Linked DNA regions of Homo sapiens: regions 2, 3 and 4 are each linked to region 1. The links are contacts of gene promoters, found by promoter capture Hi-C in human tissues and cell types (Jung and others, 2019). All regions are on one chromosome and are shown on one strand. The core of a region is centred on a gene start or on the middle of the fragment in contact, and the rest is flanking DNA. Distances in the headings are between cores, read along the strand shown.

Evidence for each region. The method cuts DNA at HindIII sites, captures the fragments that hold promoters and counts their contacts. A contact is called where the count stands out against the background at its distance.
Region 2: a contact is called between a fragment that was not itself captured here and the fragment with the promoter of TMEM222 in region 1, in 2 of the 25 tissues and cell types used here (IMR-90 fibroblasts and pancreas).
Region 3: a contact is called between a fragment that was not itself captured here and the fragment with the promoter of TMEM222 in region 1, in 4 of the 25 tissues and cell types used here (H1 embryonic stem cells, IMR-90 fibroblasts, dorsolateral prefrontal cortex and 1 more).
Region 4: a contact is called between the fragment with the promoter of SLC9A1 here and the fragment with the promoter of TMEM222 in region 1, in 1 of the 25 tissues and cell types used here (IMR-90 fibroblasts).

Annotation. Positions count from the first base shown.
Region 1 is chr1:27,319,837-27,324,556 of GRCh38, forward strand. TMEM222 (transmembrane protein 222) reads left to right here and starts at 2,327. Exons shown (of 6, transcript NM_032125.3): 1 at 2,327-2,555. The coding sequence starts at 2,362. It also overlaps the pseudogene ACTG1P20. RefSeq lists enhancers at 1,741-2,287, 2,288-2,835, 2,335-2,684, 2,836-3,382. The HindIII fragment of the contact is 11,672 bases long and covers 1-4,720 here.
Region 2 is chr1:27,546,853-27,551,572 of GRCh38, forward strand. AHDC1 (AT-hook DNA binding motif containing 1) reads right to left here. Exons shown (of 9, transcript NM_001371928.1): 8 at 409-4,720. The coding sequence ends at 452. Among named protein-coding and RNA genes, the nearest start is that of AHDC1, 55 kb to the right of the region's middle. The HindIII fragment of the contact is 6,600 bases long and covers 1-4,720 here.
Region 3 is chr1:27,125,478-27,130,197 of GRCh38, forward strand. The region is part of intron 1 of SLC9A1 (solute carrier family 9 member A1); the gene reads right to left. Among named protein-coding and RNA genes, the nearest start is that of SLC9A1, 27 kb to the right of the region's middle. The HindIII fragment of the contact is 6,234 bases long and covers 1-4,720 here.
Region 4 is chr1:27,152,605-27,157,324 of GRCh38, forward strand. SLC9A1 (solute carrier family 9 member A1) reads right to left here and starts at 2,521. Exons shown (of 12, transcript NM_003047.5): 1 at 1,379-2,521. The coding sequence starts at 1,730. RefSeq lists a silencer at 2,241-2,470 and an enhancer at 3,416-3,915. The HindIII fragment of the contact is 28,159 bases long and covers 1-4,720 here.

The DNA of each region.
Region 1 (4,720 bases), core at 1,077-3,576:
AAAAGAACAGGAGATTAATGGGGGCTTTCTCATTTAGATTGGGAGACCAGGGATGGGCTGAGAAAGTAATATTTGATCTGAGACTGGAAGAATGAAAGTTAGCCGCTTTAAGTAGATAGGAGTAGTATTTCAGGCAGAGGGGAACAGTGTGTGCCAAGTCCCTGGAATATGAAGGAGTGCATGAGAGGAACTGAAAGAAAAGGCCAGGATGGCTGTAGTATAGTAAATAAGGAAGGGGCATGGGTCCAGATGGTGCAGGGCTTTGTGAGCCATAGTAAGATATTTGTGTTTCATACGAAGTGCAACGGGAAGCCATTGAAGTTTGGCAGATTAAATGTGGTACGTGTATTAGTACTACCAAACTTGTGGCAGGCCCTGAGAGACTTACTTTGGTTGTTTATTCATCAATACCTACAATAAATGTTTAAAGGGTACCCAGCAACCCTGTGCTAGAATTATGGGCTGACAGTCATGGTAGGGAGATGTCTAAGGCACAGACCTTCCTCACAGCCTGTGGTCCAGAAGAGATTAGATAACTACAGTGATTGAATCAAGAAGTCATGTAATTTATTCTCAACAACTGTAAACTACACACCTAATCTATTCCAAACCCTGTGCTGGATGCTGGTTGTTGCCCTTCAAGGATCACACACTGCACAGGGGTCAAGGAGAGGTACAAACGTGCTCAAAGAATTTGGAGTGGGTTAGAATCATTTTCTAACCCACTGTAATCATTATCATGCCTGCGAATCTCTGAGGTCTTTATAAAACATCCATTTATTCAATCACCTAATAAATCAGTAAACATCTAGTGGGCATATGCTTTGCACCAGGAACTGTGCCAGCTACTGAAGTCAAGGACCTTAGAGTTCTATAGCAGAGACAGACATCCCCCACAAAAAAACATGAAAATATTAGGTGCTACAAACAGGACAGCAAGCTCTCCATAGATCAGCATTGAGGGAGGGTAATTCAGTGGAAGAAGGACCTTCCCCAAATGGGAAGCTCCTAACTTCCTGAGTGCATTTGTCCATACCTTCCTTTACCTGATTACTCTTTTTATTCTTTTTTTTTTTTCTTTAAGGCTGATTTTTAGTGGCAGCCTTCCTTCTGACTTTGGGCTGTCCCCAACTTCCCCTCCCCACCCCAGTAGACCCCAGTAGACTTCATTTTCTTTGTCTTGACATCCTTTAAAAAGCCAAAAGTCTCCAACATTTGAGCCTGGCTTCTCTCTAATTATGGTTGTGTGTGATCTCAAACAATTAACTTCCCTGAGCCCGTTTTCCCATTTGTACAATGAAGGGATTGGATCACATCTAAGGCTTATGATTTACTCCAGTAAGTATTCACACTCTTGCACACACTGCTCTGCACGGCCTTCCTTTCTTTGTACCGCTGCACTCATACTTCCACTCCTGTGCCACATGGCAAACATCAAGACTCAACTCAATAATATCCTATCTTCCAGCAAGTCTTCCCTGTATATACAATAAAACACACACACACACACACGTGCGCACACACAACTGTGTGTGTCTTCCTTTATGCTACCACTACCTCGTGAGAGGGCCACAGAATGAAAAGGGCAAGGGAGGTATAAGACTTGGGTTTGGGCCAGGCGCGGTGGCTCACGCCTGTAATCCCAGCACTTTGGGAGGCCAAGGCGGGCGGATCACAGGGTCAGGAGTTTGAGACCATCCTGGCTAACATGGTGAAACGCCACCTCTACTAAAAATACAAAAATTAGCCGGGCGTGGTGGCACGCGCCTGTTATCCCAGCTACTCGGGAGGCCGAGGCAGGATCGCCTGAACCTGGGAGGTGGAGGTTGCAGTGAGCCGAGATTGTGCCATTGCCCTCCAGCCTGGGCAACAAGAGAAAAAATTCCGCCTCAGAAAAAAAAAAAAAAAAAAAGACTTGGGTTTGCATCGTGGTCTCTCACCTTTTGAACCTCAGTTTCTCACCTGTAACAGGAGGGAATACCTAATTTGGATGTCTAATTAGTTTATGGGGATTAGAAACAATTCATGTCAAGTGCTTGGCACCTAAGAAGTGCTCAATAAATAGCGACTGTACCACACCTCCTAGGAGCCCTCAGCGTACTGAATTAGAGTTCTCTATAAGTCTCCGGCGCTAGACTGCGAACTGCCTGAGAGCATCCCTTCTGCAGCCGCGGGGCATAAGCGGCAAAGACTCGGGGCTGGCAGGCGCATAGGGAGTGGGGCGGGGCTGGCCGGGCCCAGAGGAACGCGGCTCGGATTCCCGGGGGAAGGCCAAGCGGGGCGGACCCCATCTCCGGGAAGTGACGCCATGGGGACGAGCGGCACCAGAGCCGGGGCCAGTCGGAGCGGGGCGCGCGCCGCATGGCGGAAGCGGAAGGGAGTTCTCTGCTCTTGTTGCCGCCGCCGCCACCCCCGCCCAGGATGGCGGAAGTGGAGGCGCCGACGGCGGCCGAGACGGACATGAAGCAATATCAAGGCTCCGGCGGCGTCGCCATGGATGTGGAACGGAGTCGCTTCCCCTACTGCGTGGTGTGGACGCCCATCCCGGTGCTCACGTGAGTCTCTTCCGGCATCCGCCTGGGGACGAGGAGGGCCCAGGGAGAGCCGGAGTCGGGCCGGGCTAGCCTCCGGCCCCAACGCGCAGCAAGCCTTTTCCTCGGGTCTGGCCCGCACGCCTCGCCCAGTCACCAGAACCCCGCCATCCATGTAGTGCCAGTTTGTGCACACGGCTGGGACACGCTCCCTGCTCTCAATACACCTGGTGTAGCCAGGGAGAGAGTTGTAGGCCAGCAGGAAAGGGCAAGTGGCTGGGAGACTCGAGCTGTGAGTGTGTAGAAGAGGGAGCCCCTTATCGGATCTGAGGAGACATTTTTATTAATTCACTGGTTTATTCTCTCATTGAGCAAATGCTTACTGGTCGCTTACCATATTCCAGACATACTGCTGGGTCTGGGAGCAAGAGTGGGAGTTTGGTTGGGACCACACGAGATCCTGGGATGTCAACATTGGAAGGGCCCCCAGAGATCTGAGAGTCCAACCCTTTGTCTCACGTGCCATCTCAGTTGCAAACTGGGTTTAGATCCCAGGTTGTCTGCCTCCCAGACCAAAGTTCTTTCTGTAACATCAGCCTTTGTCAGGGGAGAAGCAGGTGCTCTGGTACTACTTGGCGCCTTTTGGGAGGAGCTCTCATATGGGGAGAGGTGGTTTGCCCTCCTGCTTCAACCTTGACAGCTGATAAACGTAACCCCTCCTCACCGTGCTGGATAGTTTGCCAAGCTCTTAAACACCCATTTTATCAGAATTAAACATCCATTTTCTAAGGTAGGTTATCTTCTCAGATGGTGAAGCTGAGCTGCTTGTAGCATTAAGTGTCTTGATCAGGTTCGCACCCCAATAAGCAAAGGCATGAAGAGCTCAGTCTTCTGATCTAACTTGCTCTTTGCACTACATCTTATCCACTCTCACCTGATGGGATAGCTTGTTCCGCTATCAATAACAGCCAGTGGTGATGTGGAGAAGGGATCATTTGGGGCCTTAGGTGTTGCTGATTCTAAAAAGATCGTAGTTTTTGAATTATGTTAAAATACTTGAATTATTTTGTGTTTTCAAGTACTTATGCATATAAGAGCATCCAAATCTGTTCTTTAAAAATAAAATATTGGGACAGGCGCGGTGGCTCATGCCTGTAATCCCAGCACTCTGGGAGGCAGTGGAGGGTGGATCGGTAGGTAGTTCGAGACCAACCTGGCCATCGTGGCGAAACCCGTCTCTACTAAAAATACAAAAATTAGCTGGGCATAGTGGCACGTGCCTGTAATCCCAGCTACTCTGGAAGCTGAGGCAGGAGAATCGCCTCAACCCGGGAAGTGGAGTTTGCAGTGAGCCGAGATTGCACCACTGCACTTCAGCATGGGCAACACAGTGAAACTCCGTCTCAAAATAAATAGTGAAATAAAATCTTAGGAAAATGTGCACATTAATTCATTCAGTGTTCTTCTAACACATGTGCTAAGTGACCCCTGTGTTCCCAGATAGTTCTAGGTGATGCGAATATACAGTGATGAATAAAGGAGATATGGTCTTTAGACTTTTGAGAGTTTAAGTCATAGTGGAAGGAGATAGACAGTAAACAAGTAAGCTAATAAAAGAGCACCTGATAGTGATGAGTGCTGTGAAGAAAATAAAATATTAGTGTGAAAATAACAGGGGCCGGGCGTGGTGGCTCAGGCCTGTAATCCCAGCACTTTGGGAGGCCCAGGCGGGCGAATCACCTGAGGTCAGGAGTTCAAGACAAGCCTGACCAACATGGAGAAACCCCATCTCTACTAAAAATACAAAATTAGCCGGGGTGGTGGCACATGCCTGTAATCCCAGCTACTCAGGAGGCCGAGGCAGGAGAATCACTTGAACCCGGGAGGTGGAGGTTGCGGTGAGCCAAGATCGTGCTTTTGCACTCCAGCCTGGACAACAAGAGCAAAACTCCGTTTCAAAAAAAAAGAAAATAACTGGGAGGGATACTCAGGAAATGTATTGGTTTTCTTAAAACCTGTCTTGTGATCCTAAACTCTCTTTAGCCTTTCTTATTCTCAAAAACACCATCTGTGGCGTGGTCCTCTGCGGAGAATGGTAGCAGCGTGAGGTGGAGGCACCACAATCCCTTGTCACCTGGGCCAAAAGCAGCTCATAGCCCATTTCTATTCAGATCTGTGTACAGGTGTTC
Region 2 (4,720 bases), core at 703-3,202, 230 kb after region 1:
TCCCTTCACCTGTCTCACACAGGGCGATACAAATGCCCACCCTTATCAGCGTATTTCCTGGGAAATACTCACTTCCTGCCCAAGACATAGCATGAACAAATAATTGAAAGCTTAATAAACCAAACTACAGGGCCCCATCCAGTGTGTAGTCCTCTGGCCATTTCAATTCACAAGACCCCCCCGAACGTTCAAGCCCCCTGCTGAGTTCCCAGCCCAAGCACCCCATCTCCTCCTGAGACTGTCCGCAACAGCGAATCCTGAATCCCTACACCCTGCTCTCAGTCCCCAGCCTTGCCCTTAAATCCTGCATTTGCTTCCTGCACTCCATACCTCTGTCCTTGCCTAAGCTCTGATGTCCTCTTCCCACCCCCAGGCCTCTGCCCACTGCGCCCACATCCCCAGACTCACCCAGGAACAAAACCTCGCGGTCCAGTCGGCACTTCAGTTGGCACTACAGGGATGTGACGGTGAATGTGTCCTCGGGGTGAGGTTCCGCCATGGGCCCCAGGAAGCCGCTCTTGGGGCCCCCACCCAGGCCAGGATGCGCCTGGGGCATAAAGCCTGGGTACCTGTAGGCGGTGTCCTGCAGGGGCAGCAGCGAGTCCCTCGGCACGGGGGACAGGGTCAAGTCACTAAGGAGTGGGCAGCCATAGCCAGCAGCGGCTGCAGCAGGGCCACGGGGTGGGCCAGGGGGCCGGGCCATTTCCAGTGGCTCCTTGTCGGCCTTGGGCGTGGCTGGTGGGCTAGCCAGGTGAGGGGCACTGAGGCACGCGGCCTCCGTCCTGCCCAGGAAGTCAGCCAGCAGCCCTGTACCCACCTTGCCTTCATAGGGCGGGCTGCGGGCAGCTGAGCCTGGAGGGTACCAATAGGCTGTGCCCTTGCAGCTGGGGGAATCGTAGTGGGGCTGGCCCAGCGGCAGGTCCCGGCAGCTCAGGTGGGCCTGGGCTGCAGCTGCGTGGCCCAGGCTGGCCCCCTGGAGTCCATGCTTGAGGGGCTCGCAGGCAGCCAGCTTTGTGGGCGGTGGCCGCAGCTCTTCCTTGAAGCCCAGTGTAGGCGAGCAGGTGGGCGAGTATGCCTTCTGCAGGCCGGCGTCAAACACCGTGGGTGGGTGGGCCAGCGGTGGGAAATGCTTGCCATCAAGCTCGGGAGCACCCAGGCTGGGCGAGTCGCAGTGGAAGCCTTGGCCAAAGGTGCCATCGGAAGGCGTGGACGGGTTCATGGAGTAGGGTCCTATGAAGTCACAGGGGTCTCGCTCTCCCACGCCGAAGGCCCTCGACTGTGAGGGCAGTGGTGACATGCTGCTGTCCCCGCTATAGTAGTCCAGGCCGAGGTCAGGACTGTCCTGGAACAGTGGGTTGACTGGCTGTGGCTTGGGGATGAACTTGGCTTTGGCCGCTGCGCCACCCCGCTCCTTCTTGGCTGAGCAGGCCCCACCGCCCCGTCCACCTCGCGGCTGCCGGGGCCCAGTGCTCCGTTTGGATGGGTAGCCTGAGGCAGCGGCAGAGGCGGATGTCGGGAAGCCCAGATGTGAGGCCTCGAACAGGTCCACCTTCTTCCGCCGTCCACGGCCCGGCTTGGAGCTACTCTGAAAGAGGACACTCTGGTTCCAGTTGTAGCCGGGGGCAGATGATGCCTCGTTCCAGTCCATCATCAGTTTCTCCAGGCTGGACAGGCTCGACTGGCCCTCACTACTTGAGGCCTCGCTGTTGGCACGCCGAAACCCCCCGCCACCAACCGGCTGATTGAACTGGGTGCTGTCGGAGGATGACTCAGAGAAGGTCTCCGACACAGCCGTCTGCTGCTTCACCTTCTGCGGTGTGTAGTTGGAGATGTCCAGGATCACGTTGGGCTCGCTGACGTGGCAGTCAAAACTGGGATTGTAGAGCTGACTAAAGGCCTCTGAGGCCCAGTCCAGGCCTCCATAGCCCTGCCGGAAAGGCCACTGAGAAGCCCCCGCAAACTGCCGACAGTTCTCGGGCGAGGGCTGGAAGGAGGAGGAGGAGGAGGAGGCGGCAGAGGCTGCAGAGGTGGCAGAGGCTGTGGTGCCCTTGGGTACCATGTAGCCACCGGGCGAGACTGTGCTGGCCCGGCTGTCACAGCGCAGGGGCGTGGGGGCTGAACCAGAGAAGGGGGCCCCCTCAGAGCTGCTGAAGAAGGAGGCCTTGCTTGGTGGCAGGCAGGGGCCCCCGGTAGGCGGTGGGGCATAGCCGGCGCTGTGGGCGCTGCTGGGTGAGGCAGGGAGGCTGTTGCCACTGCCATAGGCGAAGCTGCAGTCCTTGCTGTTAGCGCAGTCCTGGCCTGTAAAGGGCTTAGTTGGGGCGAATACGCTTTGTCCGGCCCCATAGCCGCCGTACTGGGGCAGGTAGGTGTTGGCAGGCGGGTGGGTGGTAGGTGAGCGGGCCATGGCTGAGGGCGGGGGCACCAGCTTGGGGAAGGTCTCGGCTGCCCGGCAGTCTGAAGCGGCTGGAGTTAGCCCATAGCTTGCTGCTCGTCCTGGTGGGAAGGTCTGGCGCGCGGACAGGACAGGCTGAAAGGAGGGGTCCGCCCCAGCCCCGCTGCTACCCACTGCCACTGGGCTGGCCTTGGCTCCCCGGCTAGGGAAGGTGGCCAGGCCCCGCTGGGCAGGCAGGGCACTGGTGGGTGGCCCTGCATAGGTGCCCGATGCCTTCCGGGACTCTGGGCGAGAGGCTGAGAGGGCAAAGTCCAAGAGATCGGAGGAGTCATCCGAATCGAGCAGCGAGCGAAAGTAGCCGGTGAAGAGGTTTTGGCGCTCCTGGCTGAGCTCGGTCTGGCCTGAGGGTGCACCCGTGCTGTAGTAGCTGCCACGGCCTGAGGCTCCACTCTCCAGCCCAGTGGAGGCAAAGGCCCGGGCCTCGGTCCCCTGAAACCCACAGTTTCGGCCAGCTTGTCCGCCTGGGTGCCCATGGTGAGGGGCCCAGCCACCACCCTTATCCCCGGCCCACTCAGCACCTGCCTCCCCAAAGCCTGGGCCACTGGGCACCTGCTCTGGGAACAGAGTCCCATTCTTCCGGGACCGTCTCTTGCGCTTTGGCTTCCCAGTCACAGCGTCTACCTCCCCCCGGCCCCGTTTGCGTGGGTGCCCCAACTCAGTAAGGCCCGGGCCCCCGACCCCAGCGGCTGCCACGGCCACCACCTTCTTTTTCTTGCCGATGCCCTCAAAGAAGTCACTGAAGGAGCATCGGGCTGACTTGGCCGCATGGCCCCCACCCCGGCCACCAAAACCGCCTGCTTTGCCCCCACGCCGCCGGAAGCCCTGCACACGATGCAGGAAGTGGGAGATGCTCTGGGTGTCGGGGGCCTGGTGCACCGACTCCGGCTCACTGGGTGTCCAGCAGCGGGGCGGTGAGCACCGTCCAGCGCACTGGCTCTGGCGGTTCAGGAAGGCCAGCTTGGCCAGGACGTCTGAGTACTCGGCCTTGCTGTCGTTGGCGTCTGCTGCATAGGATGGCTGGGGAGATGCCAGCTTCTGCTTCCGCCGCCGTCGTTTTTTTACCTCTGGCATGGCCATGGTGGCCGCTGCCACAGTGGCTGCCTCGGCCGCCACCACAGCTGGCTCCTTGGGCTTGCCGGGACCCAGCAGCAGGTTCTTAGGAGGGCGGCCGCGCTTACGTTTGAGAATAATGGGCATCTCACCGGGTGGGAAGACCACTACCACGTTCCGCCCATTGTTCTTCATCTTCAGCAGCGGGGTGGGCTCAGCCGACACGCGCAGGCCCAGCTCCTTGCCCTCCACGCTCAGGCTGCTGCTCAAGGAAGACACTTTGTATGTGGTCTTGTTCCGCCGCCCCAGCGATACGGGGATCTTGGCCATCTTCACCACCATGCGCCGCACGCCCCGGCACTTGCCTTTGCGGGTAGAGACCACTGGGGTCTGGGAAGATTCCGGCTTCAACTCTGGGACTGAGACCGGGCCTGGGCCTGGCAGGGCAGGGGGTGGAGGAGGCGGTGGTGGTGGGGGTTCGGCCAGGGCAGCCACCAGCCCCGTGGGCATAGGCAGGGGCAGTAGGCGGCCCTCGGGTCCGGCGTCTGCCTTGCGTCCCCGTCCGGCTTTCCGCCGGCGACACAGGATCTTTGGCCTATCAGTGCGCCGCAAGGCGTACTTGGGGTGACCCTCAGGCCCGGGGGGGCCGTGCGGTGAGCACAAGTCCAGGCGCAAGGGCTCGGCCAGTGGGCAGTGCCCCAGGGGCTGCTGGGGCTCCAGACGGCGACCTGGGACGTCAAGCAGCTTGGGCAGGGGGTCGAGTGCCTGGGGGTCAAGCAGCTGCGACTCCAAGGAGTCAGGCAGGGTGTCCAGGGCCTGGAGAGCCAGGCCCGGCAGCCCCAGAGGATCAGCAAGAGGTTGCAGGGGTGGCAGCTCCAGAGCTTCCCCGAGCGGCTCTAGTGCCTGCGGGTCCAGGAAGCGGGGCTGGGGGTCCAGGAGCTGAGGCTCCGGCTCGGGCGATGGTGGCTCGAGGGCCTGGGCCTCTAGCAGCTGGGCCTCTGGGCAAGTGAGGGAGGCCAGCTCACTAAGGATGTCGGCGTCAGCAAGTTCTGAGTAATCAGTGCTGTCTGGCTCAGGCTCTGGGGGCAGACCCGTGGCCGCAGCCGTGGCTCCGGGACTATGGCCTTGGCCAGGCTGGGGACTGTCCCTAGGCTCAGGCTCAGGCTCGTAGAGGGGATGGCTGGGCCGCTCCGACTTGGCGTGTGGGGTGGCCCGCTC
Region 3 (4,720 bases), core at 1,386-3,885, 190 kb before region 1:
TCAAGTGATCTGCCCACCGTGGCCTCCCAAAGTGTTGAGATTACAGGCCTGAGCCACTGCGCCCAGCCCACATATCCACTCTTGCCCCCCAGGCTCTTCCTACACCAGCCAAGAGTGAAGCTTTTTTTTTCTTTTTGAGACGGAGTCCCACTCTGTCTCCAGGCCGGAGTGCAGTGGCGCAATCTTGGCTCATTGCAACCTCTGCCTCCTGGGTTCAAGCGATTCTCCTGCCTCGGCCTCCTGCGTAGCTGGGACTATAGGCGTATGCCACCACGTCCAGCTAATTTTTGTATTTTTAGTAGATGAGGTTTCACCATGTTGGCCAGGGTGGTCTCGATCTCTTGACCTCGTGATCCGCCCACCTCAGCCTCCCAAAGTGCTGAGATTACAGTCATGAGCCACTGTGCCCAGCCAAGAGTGAAGCTTTTTAAGAGGTAAGACATACTACTGAAAGGCAGGGACTACATCCCCCTCCGCGTCTTTCCACCACACCTGAATCTCCACTCACTGTCCCCTAGCTCTACTGGCCTCCTTGCTTTTCCTTGAGCACAAACATGCCCCCACCTCAGGGCCTTTGCATTTGCTGTTCCCTGTGCCTGAGACACTATTCCCCATGTAGGTGAATGACAGATTCCCTCCCTTCCTTCAGGTCCCTGCTCAGATGCCACCTCCCCAGAGAGGTCCTCCCAACCCTCTCTATCCGCTTACCCTTGCCACTTCCTGACGTCTAGATGTGCTTTCTGACCGTTCCCCACCCAGAACATAAGCCTCGTGAGGGCAGCCTCTGTCCCAATCACTGTTGTATCCCTGGCACCTTAGGCTGTACCTGGCACACAGGAGGTTCACAATCAATGTTTGCTGGATGGATGACTTTCTCTTACCTCAGTGACCTCACAAGGTTGTGAGGATTACATGAGACCACAAACACAAAAGCACTGGGCGAACCACAAGATGTTGTCGGGGGGGTCACCATCAGCTTGTCCCTTGGAGAGCCACTCTTCCAAGGTGCTGCTCAGCAGTTTTTCCTAAATACCCCAGGGAGCAGAACCCAGTCACGCTCAGTTCTGTGGCCTGCAGAGCCTGGGACCACACAGCCCTCTATTAAGAGTCTGATGACACGGCACAGCTGGTTGGTCTGTCTCCCCCTCCAGACCACAAGCAAGTTTCTACCTGCAAGCAAGGCTAGGGACCCTGTCCTATTCATCTTTGACTCTCTAGGCCTCAGCACGGAGCCTGACACATAGTAAGGATAAAGACTTGTTGAGCTAGCAGAACTGTTTGAGGGCAGAAGTCATGTCTGGTTTAACTTTTTTTCCTTCCCTTTTGTGTATATATTTTTGGGTTTAACTTAATCTCCAGTGTTTGGCACTAAGCACATGGACACTAAGCTCCAGCTGAATTGGCCTTTTCCTTGAAGGAAGGGTGAGAGTTAGGCACCAAGAAGGCCTGGCAGGCAAATCAGCAGCATCTGGAAAGACAGGACAGGGAAACGAGTGTGGTACAGGTAGAAGATTTATTTTTTGCGGGGGGAGGGGGCAGGGAAAACAGAGTCTGGCTGTGTTGCCCAGGCTGGAGTGCAGTGGTACGAACATGGCTCACTGCAGCCTTGACTTCCTGGGCTCAAGTGATTCTCTCACCTCAGCCCCCCATGTAACTGGGACTACAGGCGCGTGCCACCATGCCTAGCTAGTTTTTGTATTTTTTGTAGAGATAGGGGTTTTGCCATGTTGCCCAGGCTGGTCTCAAACTCCTGAGCTCAAGAGATCTGCCTGCTTTGCCTCCCAAAGTGCTGAGATTACAGGCGTGAGCCACTGAGCCCAGCCCAGGTAGAGGCTTTCTATTGGAGCAAATGGCAGTGGACTGGAGTGGAAATCATTACTTAGATGCTGTAAAGCAGACTTTTCTCTCGCCCTCACAACATGCCCTGGCAGTGGGCAACAGATGAGAGAACAGACATTGAGAGAGGTCCAGACACAGGCCCAAGATCACATGGGTAGCAGCGGAGGCAGGTCCCAAACCCAGAACTACTGACTCCCAATCCAGCGCTCAGCCAAGGCCAGTTATGAAAGGCCACAAATACCCTGCAGGGAGAGAATTCCCAATCACCCTGCTGAGCCAGGCAGAGCCACTGGAGGGCTCTGGCCTGGGGAACAACATGAAATTCTGCCACTTCAGGGAGGTGGTCAAGGGAGACAGCGCTGGCCACCCAGGCTCAGCACCTGGCATAGGGCAAAGTTGTCCAAATGCACAGCCATTTAGTCTCAGCTCCAGGGACAGCTGGCACTGCCTCCTGCACAATACCAGCAGGATGGGTGAGCACCCCCTCCATCCTACCTCCAAATGCCTCAAAAGACCAGAAAACTACAATTCTGAGAAAAGAAAGGCCTGAGTCAAGCCCAGGCTGGGGATCAGGGGAACTGGGCTTCAGTCTAGACTCAGCCACTAACATTCTGTGGGCTTTGAACAAGCCGTTGCTTCTCTTTGGTCTCAGTCTCTCCATCCTTGGGGGCTTGTTGAGAGCCTCTCTACCTCTGACATCTGACTGATGAACTCTGCAGCTGGACAAAGTCGGGCTCTGTGATACTCACCATCTCTGTCCATGCCAGCAACTGTGGCATCTGGGTACAGAATAGCATTCGTGCCATAGCAAGCTTGCACGAGGCAGCAGCGGGCAGCGTAAAGAGCTCTGGTCCATCAATGAGGGAGGTAGTTTCTGTCCCAATTCTAAATCTTAACTTCTCTGTGACCTAATAAGGCAAATCACGGTACTGCCCTGAACCTCAGTTTCTTCCTTTCTAACATTGGGATAAAGAATGTCTATGGCACAGCGTTGCTGTAAGAGGAGAGAACAGAGACAGAAACACTCAGAAAAAAGCAAAAACAAAAATATATGCCCAGGCCAGGGGAGGTGGCTCACACCTGAATCCCAGCAGCGGGGGAGGCCGAGGCGAGAGGATCACTTGAGCCCAGGAGTTTGAGAGCAGCCTGGGTAACGTGGCAAAACCCATCTCTACAAAAAATTTAAAAATTAGTTGGGCATGGCTGGTGCATACCTGTAGTCCCAGCTACTAGGGAGGCTGAGGTGGGAGGATCACCTGAGCCCGGGAGGTTGAGGTTTCAGTGAGCCGAGATCATGCCAACTGCACTCTATCCTGGGCAACAGGGTGAGACCCTGTCTTTAAAAAAAAAAAAAAAAAAGGCCAGGCGTGGTGGCTCATGCCTATAATCCCAGCACTTTGAGACGCCAAGGCGGGCGGATCACCTGAGGTCAGGAGTTTGAGACCAGCCTGGCCAACATGGTGAAACCCCATCTCTATTAAAAATACAAAATTAGCCGGGCGTAGTGGTGCATGCCTGTAATCCCAGCTACTTGGGAGGCTGAGGCAGGAGAATCACTTGAACCCAGGAGGTGGAGGTTGCAGTGAGCCGAGATCCTCACGCCATTGCACTCCAGCCTGGGCAAAAAGAGGGAAACTCCATAAACAAACAAACAAACAAACAAACAAATGCATGCACGCACGCACGCATGCCAGACACTCCCGTGCAGATCTAGATTCCCAGAAACCAGCAGCGGCAGGGTCCCAGAGGCAAGCTGGCAGCACTAGGGAGGCAAGAGCTTCTCCTAAACAGGCACCTGAGGGGGAAGCTGTCCAACTGCACAGCATTAAGGCTCCATGGGCAGCAGGCACTGCCTCCTGCACAATACCAGCAAGATGGGTGAGCTTTCCTGATACTGGATCCTCTATCTCAAGGGGGTCCCCTAAGGGTCTCCCATACACTTCTGATAACGATCCAGCTGGCTGGGCTCTGTGTGGTGGGAGAGACAGGGCATGCTTGGAGGGCCTCTCCCTGCCTCCTCTCCCACCACACTGGGGATAGTTTGTCACTTCAGGCCTCTAGGAGCCACGAGATGTAGAGTGGATAGGAGAACTGAGCATGCTCAGAGGAGGCTGCCCTTTAGAGGACACTGCAGAGAAAAGATGAGGACACGGCCAGCTGCAGGGCTTGGTCCTGGTGCCAGGAAGGCCCAGGGCTCTAGAAACAGCAATGGGAGGTCAGCTCTCTCCTGTGGGAGAAGAGGGGCAGCAAGAAGTCAGAGATTAGAAGAGGGAGGGCCCTCTGAGACCATCCAGTGCAACCCCTCTATTTTACAGATGCAAAGGATGAAGCCCAGAGAGGGGACGGAACTTGGTTGACGTTACACAGCAAAGTGGTAGCAGAGCTGGCACACACACCCAGGATGGTCCACTCCAAAACTGGTCCTTGCTTGGAACATGGTGCCAACCCCCCCATTCCACTCCCACTTCTTTTTTTTAAACTACCTTCTATTGAGTGCCTCACTTTGATGCTCTGTATACTTCAATCACGATTCTCCTAGCAGCCCTCTGACACAGGGATCACCCTCCTCATTCTACAGCTGAGGAAACCGGGGCAGAGAGAAATGGTCTGACTCCAGAGCCATGGCCCCAACCATGCTGCCTGCAGCTCTGAGCCCCAGTTTTCTGGACCAAATGGTGGGTGTGGGGAGCAGGAGCCCTGGTTTATTGCCAGGTCTGTCACTCCTTTGCTGTGTGACCTTGGGCAGGTCACTCACCCATTCTAAACTGTTGGTCTTTCATTTTGTTTGTTTGTTTGTTTTTTGAGACAGAGTCTCATTCTGTCGCTCAGGCTGGAGTGCAGTGGCACAATCTTGGCTCACTGCAACCTCCGCCTCCTGGGT
Region 4 (4,720 bases), core at 1,271-3,770, 170 kb before region 1:
GTTCCCCTTGTCCAGTCCTTGATTTCTCTCCAGGAAGCTAACTGCCATCAAGGTATAGGTGCTGATGGCTTAGTTCCATGTAAGGCTCTGCTACTGTGACCAGCTTGGCACAAGAGCCCTGCACCAGGAACCCAGCTCCTGGATCTGTCAAATTAGAGGCACCACTTCCCTCCCGCTGCATGTCCCAGAGCCTGCCTCACACCAGCCCGGCAGCACCGCTCAGCTCCTGCATGTCCTTGGGAGAGCTGGAAGGTTTCCTGCCAAATTCCCAAACCCAAATCTCAGGCAGAGGGGACAGCAGAGTCCCAGGACCTCATGCCTTCCACAGCCAGCTGGGGGCAAGCTGAAAATGCAAAGGCAGTTGTCAAAGTCCCCCTGAACACCACTTTCAGGGACTTCTGGGCAATGTAGGCTCCAGTAAGCTCCCCCAATCACTCAGCAGAACAGAGTGCTCAGGCCTAGCAGGGAGACCAATACTCTGAGAGCAAATAAGTTGTCTGTTTCCTTCTCCCCAAAAGAAGGTTTCAAAGTCTCTTCAGGCCTGAACATCCCTAGGCTCCCCCATCTACCTCATCTACTTGATTGAGCAGCAGGCCAGACAGCACCCTGAGACACAGCCAGGCAGCGACCTGGGGGTGAGCTGGGGTCAGACCAAGCCTCAACCTCCTCTACTCTCCCTCCACTTCCAAAACAGACTTCAGAAATTTCCAGGGCCCCTTGTCCCACAGATTCTATAAAGTATGGCATTCCTGGGCCGGAAATTGACTCAGGGGCTCCTAACTAGCCTGGACAAGCAAAGCTGACAGATAACATTCTGGAGATGAAGGAAAGGTGGGAATATGGGGATCCCCTGTGTTCCACCACACTTGTAAGTTTCCTGTGCCCAGGTCTCCACTATGCTTAAACTCCTCAAGCAGGCCAAGTAGAAATATACTCCATCCTGGAACACGCTCCAGTGAAGCCTGTCATAAATTGCACTGGTTGCTGTTGACAGAGCAGAATGTGCCACTCGCCAGAAGACACTCCTTTCTGTCTCACACACAGCGGGGTGCCTGGCTCCCCTGGGGGTCTGGCCCAGCCAGAGGAGACTTGCCAGTCGTGGAAGCCTTACTGAAGGGACCTAGGATCAGAGGCATCCCATTCTCTAATCCTGCTCTCTTCTGTGCACAGTGCTGGCTCCAATCTTGGGAAGCCTCAGATCACAGATCAGAAGCCACAGAACTGGAGCCTGAGAAGGACCAAGGTGGCAGGATGGAGACTGCCTACTTTATGGGGGTAGTTCAGATCCTTACTCCTGGACAGCCTCAAATGGTGCGAGATGAGGCAAGAAGCTCACCAGTCTGGTGGCGGCCGCAGCATCGGAGCAAACGGGACTTACCTATCTTCATGAGGCAGGCCAGAAGGATCCAGAGGGAGATCTCGAAGGGGGTGCGCACGTGTGTGTAGTCGATGCCCAGGACTGGAAAGGCCTTGCGCGGCTTCATGCCATGATCAGTGACGGAATGATTAACAGGGCGGCTCTCTGGGGTGACCTCCGGTGGAGCGGTGGTGACATCCCCAATCGAGCGTTCTCGTGGTGGCTCTGAGCTTCGAATGGTGCTGGCAGTTGGGCTGAGCTGGAGGCCATGGCTCCTGAGAACAGGCAGCAGCCCCACCAAAGCAACCACCACGAGTAAGGAAGGGAAGATCCGATGTGGAGAGAGGCCACAGATGCCAGACCGCAGAACCATGGTGCTGCTTCCAGAGCCAGCCTCGACCTTACCCAAATGAGAGTAAAACCGGGCACATAGGTAGCAAAGGGTCAGCAAGTGGGAAGAGAGACTGGCGTAGTCTCTAGGAAAAGTTCATGTTTTAGAGAGGCATTTCCATGGAAGCAATTTTCTGGGGGTGGAGGGAGGCTGGGTTTGCAATCTGGAACTCCAAAGTGGGGAAAGGGGGCAAGGACCCAGGAACGACCACGAAAGGAGACCAAAAGGTCTGGAACTCCGGGCCTGGGAAGGGGGAGGACGGATGTGGGAAACTGAGCCCTAGGGATAGAGGAAGGGGCAGGATAGGGATAGTGCAAAGGAAAGGAAGAAGGAAGGCTGGGACCTTTGGCTGAGGAAAGTGACTGAGGAGCTGGGACTCTGGGCTGTGGGCTAAAGGAAGGGGTAGGGAGCCTGAGCTAAAGGAAGGGGACCGAAGGGGGTGAGAGCCAGTCCAGGAAAAGGAGAGAGGGGGCTGGGAGCCCAGGCTGAGAAGGAGTGAAACCGGGAAGCGGCCGGGAGCTTCTCCACCCAGAGAGGGGCAGGGGTCCAGGCGCGCCGGGCTGAGATTCCGGGGAAATGGAAAGAGGCGGAAGGCAGGCGGCCTGGCGGGAAGGCGCCTCGGCGCGGGCTGGGGGCGGCTCGCGGTGGGCCAGCAGCAACACGCCCCTCCTCGCGGCCCTGGCGCGACGCGGCGCTCCGCCCCGGCCCAGCTGCAGCTCCTCCTGGTCCAGCTCCAGAACTAACCCTAGCCCCGGCCCCGGCGGCAGCAGACTGAAGCCTAGCTGAGCCCGGCGCTGTCACTTATAGGCACCAGCGAGCAGCCGGTGCGGCGGGCTAGAGAGACCGTCGGCACCCGCCCAGCGCAGCGGCCCCTGTCGCCGAGGGAAAGAAGTATCGCGTAGGAAGAGGAAGGAGAGTCAGAGATGACAAAAAAAAAAAAAAAAAAAAGTCCTGAATATACAGAGAACCTCACTAACGCGAGTAAAATGCCGACTACTTACAAAACGATTTCACGTCCACATCTGCAGTCTCATAAGGGCTTTCGAATAATCCTGTGAAGAATGTATTATTAGTTTATGTATTTAGTTACCGTGTGACCTTGAGCAAGTTACTTAACCTGTTTCACAACTTTCTCATCTGTTAAGTAGAGACAGTAATAGTGACTATGTCAGAGGGATGATGTAATGACTGAGACAATCCGTGTAAACTATTTGGAATGCACCCTGGCACATTATTACAATTCCACTTTTACAGATGAGGAAACAGGTGAAGAGAGTCCCCTGGCTACTATGCAAGTAGTTGTATTGCTTACTAGGGCTGCCGTAACAAAGTATCACCCCAAACTGGGTGGCTGCAACAACAGAAATTGATTGTCTCACAGTTCTGGAGGCTGGAGGTCGGATCTAGGTGTTGGCAGGGTTGGTTTCAGCTGAGAGCTATGAGGGAGAATCTGTCCCATGCCTTTCTCCTACCTTCCAGTGGTTTGTTAGGACTATCTGGTATTCCATGGAGTTCTCCTGGTGTCTCTGTCTCTGCGTCCAGATTCCCCGCCCACACTTTATTTTTATTTTTATTTTTTTTGAGATAGAGTCTGGCTCTTGTTGCCCAGGCTGGAGTGCGGTGGCGCCATCTCAGCTCAATGCAACCTCTGCCTCCTGGATTCAAGCGATTCTCCTGCCTCAGCCTCCAGAGTAGCTGGGATTACTGGCACCCACCACCACGTCCAGCTAATTTTTGTATTTTTAGTAGAGATGGGGTTTCACCATGTTGGTCAGGCTGGTCTCGAACTCCTGACCTCAGGTGATCCACCCGCCTCGGCCTCCCAAAGTGCTGGGATTACAGGGGTAAGCCACAACCCCCAGCCAGATTTCCCCTTTTTATAAGGACACCAGTCATTGGATTAGAAATCCAACGTAATTACCTCATCTTAACCTGAACATCTTCAAAGACTGCATCCTAATTAGTCCATCTTCATAGGCACTGGGCATTAGGACTTCAACTTCTTTTGCCGGGACACAATTCAACCCACAACAGTGGCATGCTTTAAGTAGTGGAACTTAAATTTGAACCTATAGTTTGGTTGAAATTGGTGAGGTTCAAGGGATCATGGCTGTACAATGGAATCACTGGAAAGCTTTTTTAAAATACCATTGTCTAGGCCGGGCGTAGTGGCTGACGCCTGTAATCCCAGCACTTTGGGAGGCCGAGGCGGGCGGATCACGAGGTCAGGAGATCGAGACCACGGTGAAACCCGGTCTCTACTAAAAATACAAAAAATTAGCCGGGCGCAGTGGCGGGCGCCTGTAGTCCCAGCTACTCGGGAGGCTGAGGCAGGAGAATGGCGTGAACCCGGAAGGCGGAGCTTGCAGTGAGCGGAGATCGCGCCACAGCACTCCCGCCTGGGCGACAGAACGAGACTCCGTCTCAAAAAAAAAAAAAAAAAAAAAAAATTAGCCGGGCGTGGTGGCACATGCCTGTAATCCCAGCTAGTCAGGAGGCTGAGGCAAGAGAATCACTTGAACCCAGGAGGCGGAGGTTGCAGTAAGTCAAGATTGCACCACTGTACTCCAGCCTGGGCAACAGAGCGAGACTCTGTCTCAAAAAAAAATAAATAAATAAAAATAAATACCATTGTCTGATAAAATTAGCTGTGCTTGGTAGTCCTAGCTGCTTGGGAGGCTGAGGCAGGAGTATCATTTGAACCTAGGAGTTTGAGACTACAGTGAACTATGATCCACCACAGCACTCTAGCCTGGGCAACAAAGGGAGACCCTGTCAATCATAGTAATCATCATCATCATCATCTTTTGTAAAATATCATTTTCGGGGACCCACCGTCAGAGATTTAGATTCAATTACTTCAGGGTAGTGCCAAAGTATTTTTTTCAAAGGCTCTGATATACAACTAGGGTTGGGAGGTATAGAAATCACTGAAATGCTGTCCCTGTTTTGCAGAAGAGTACATTAAGGCC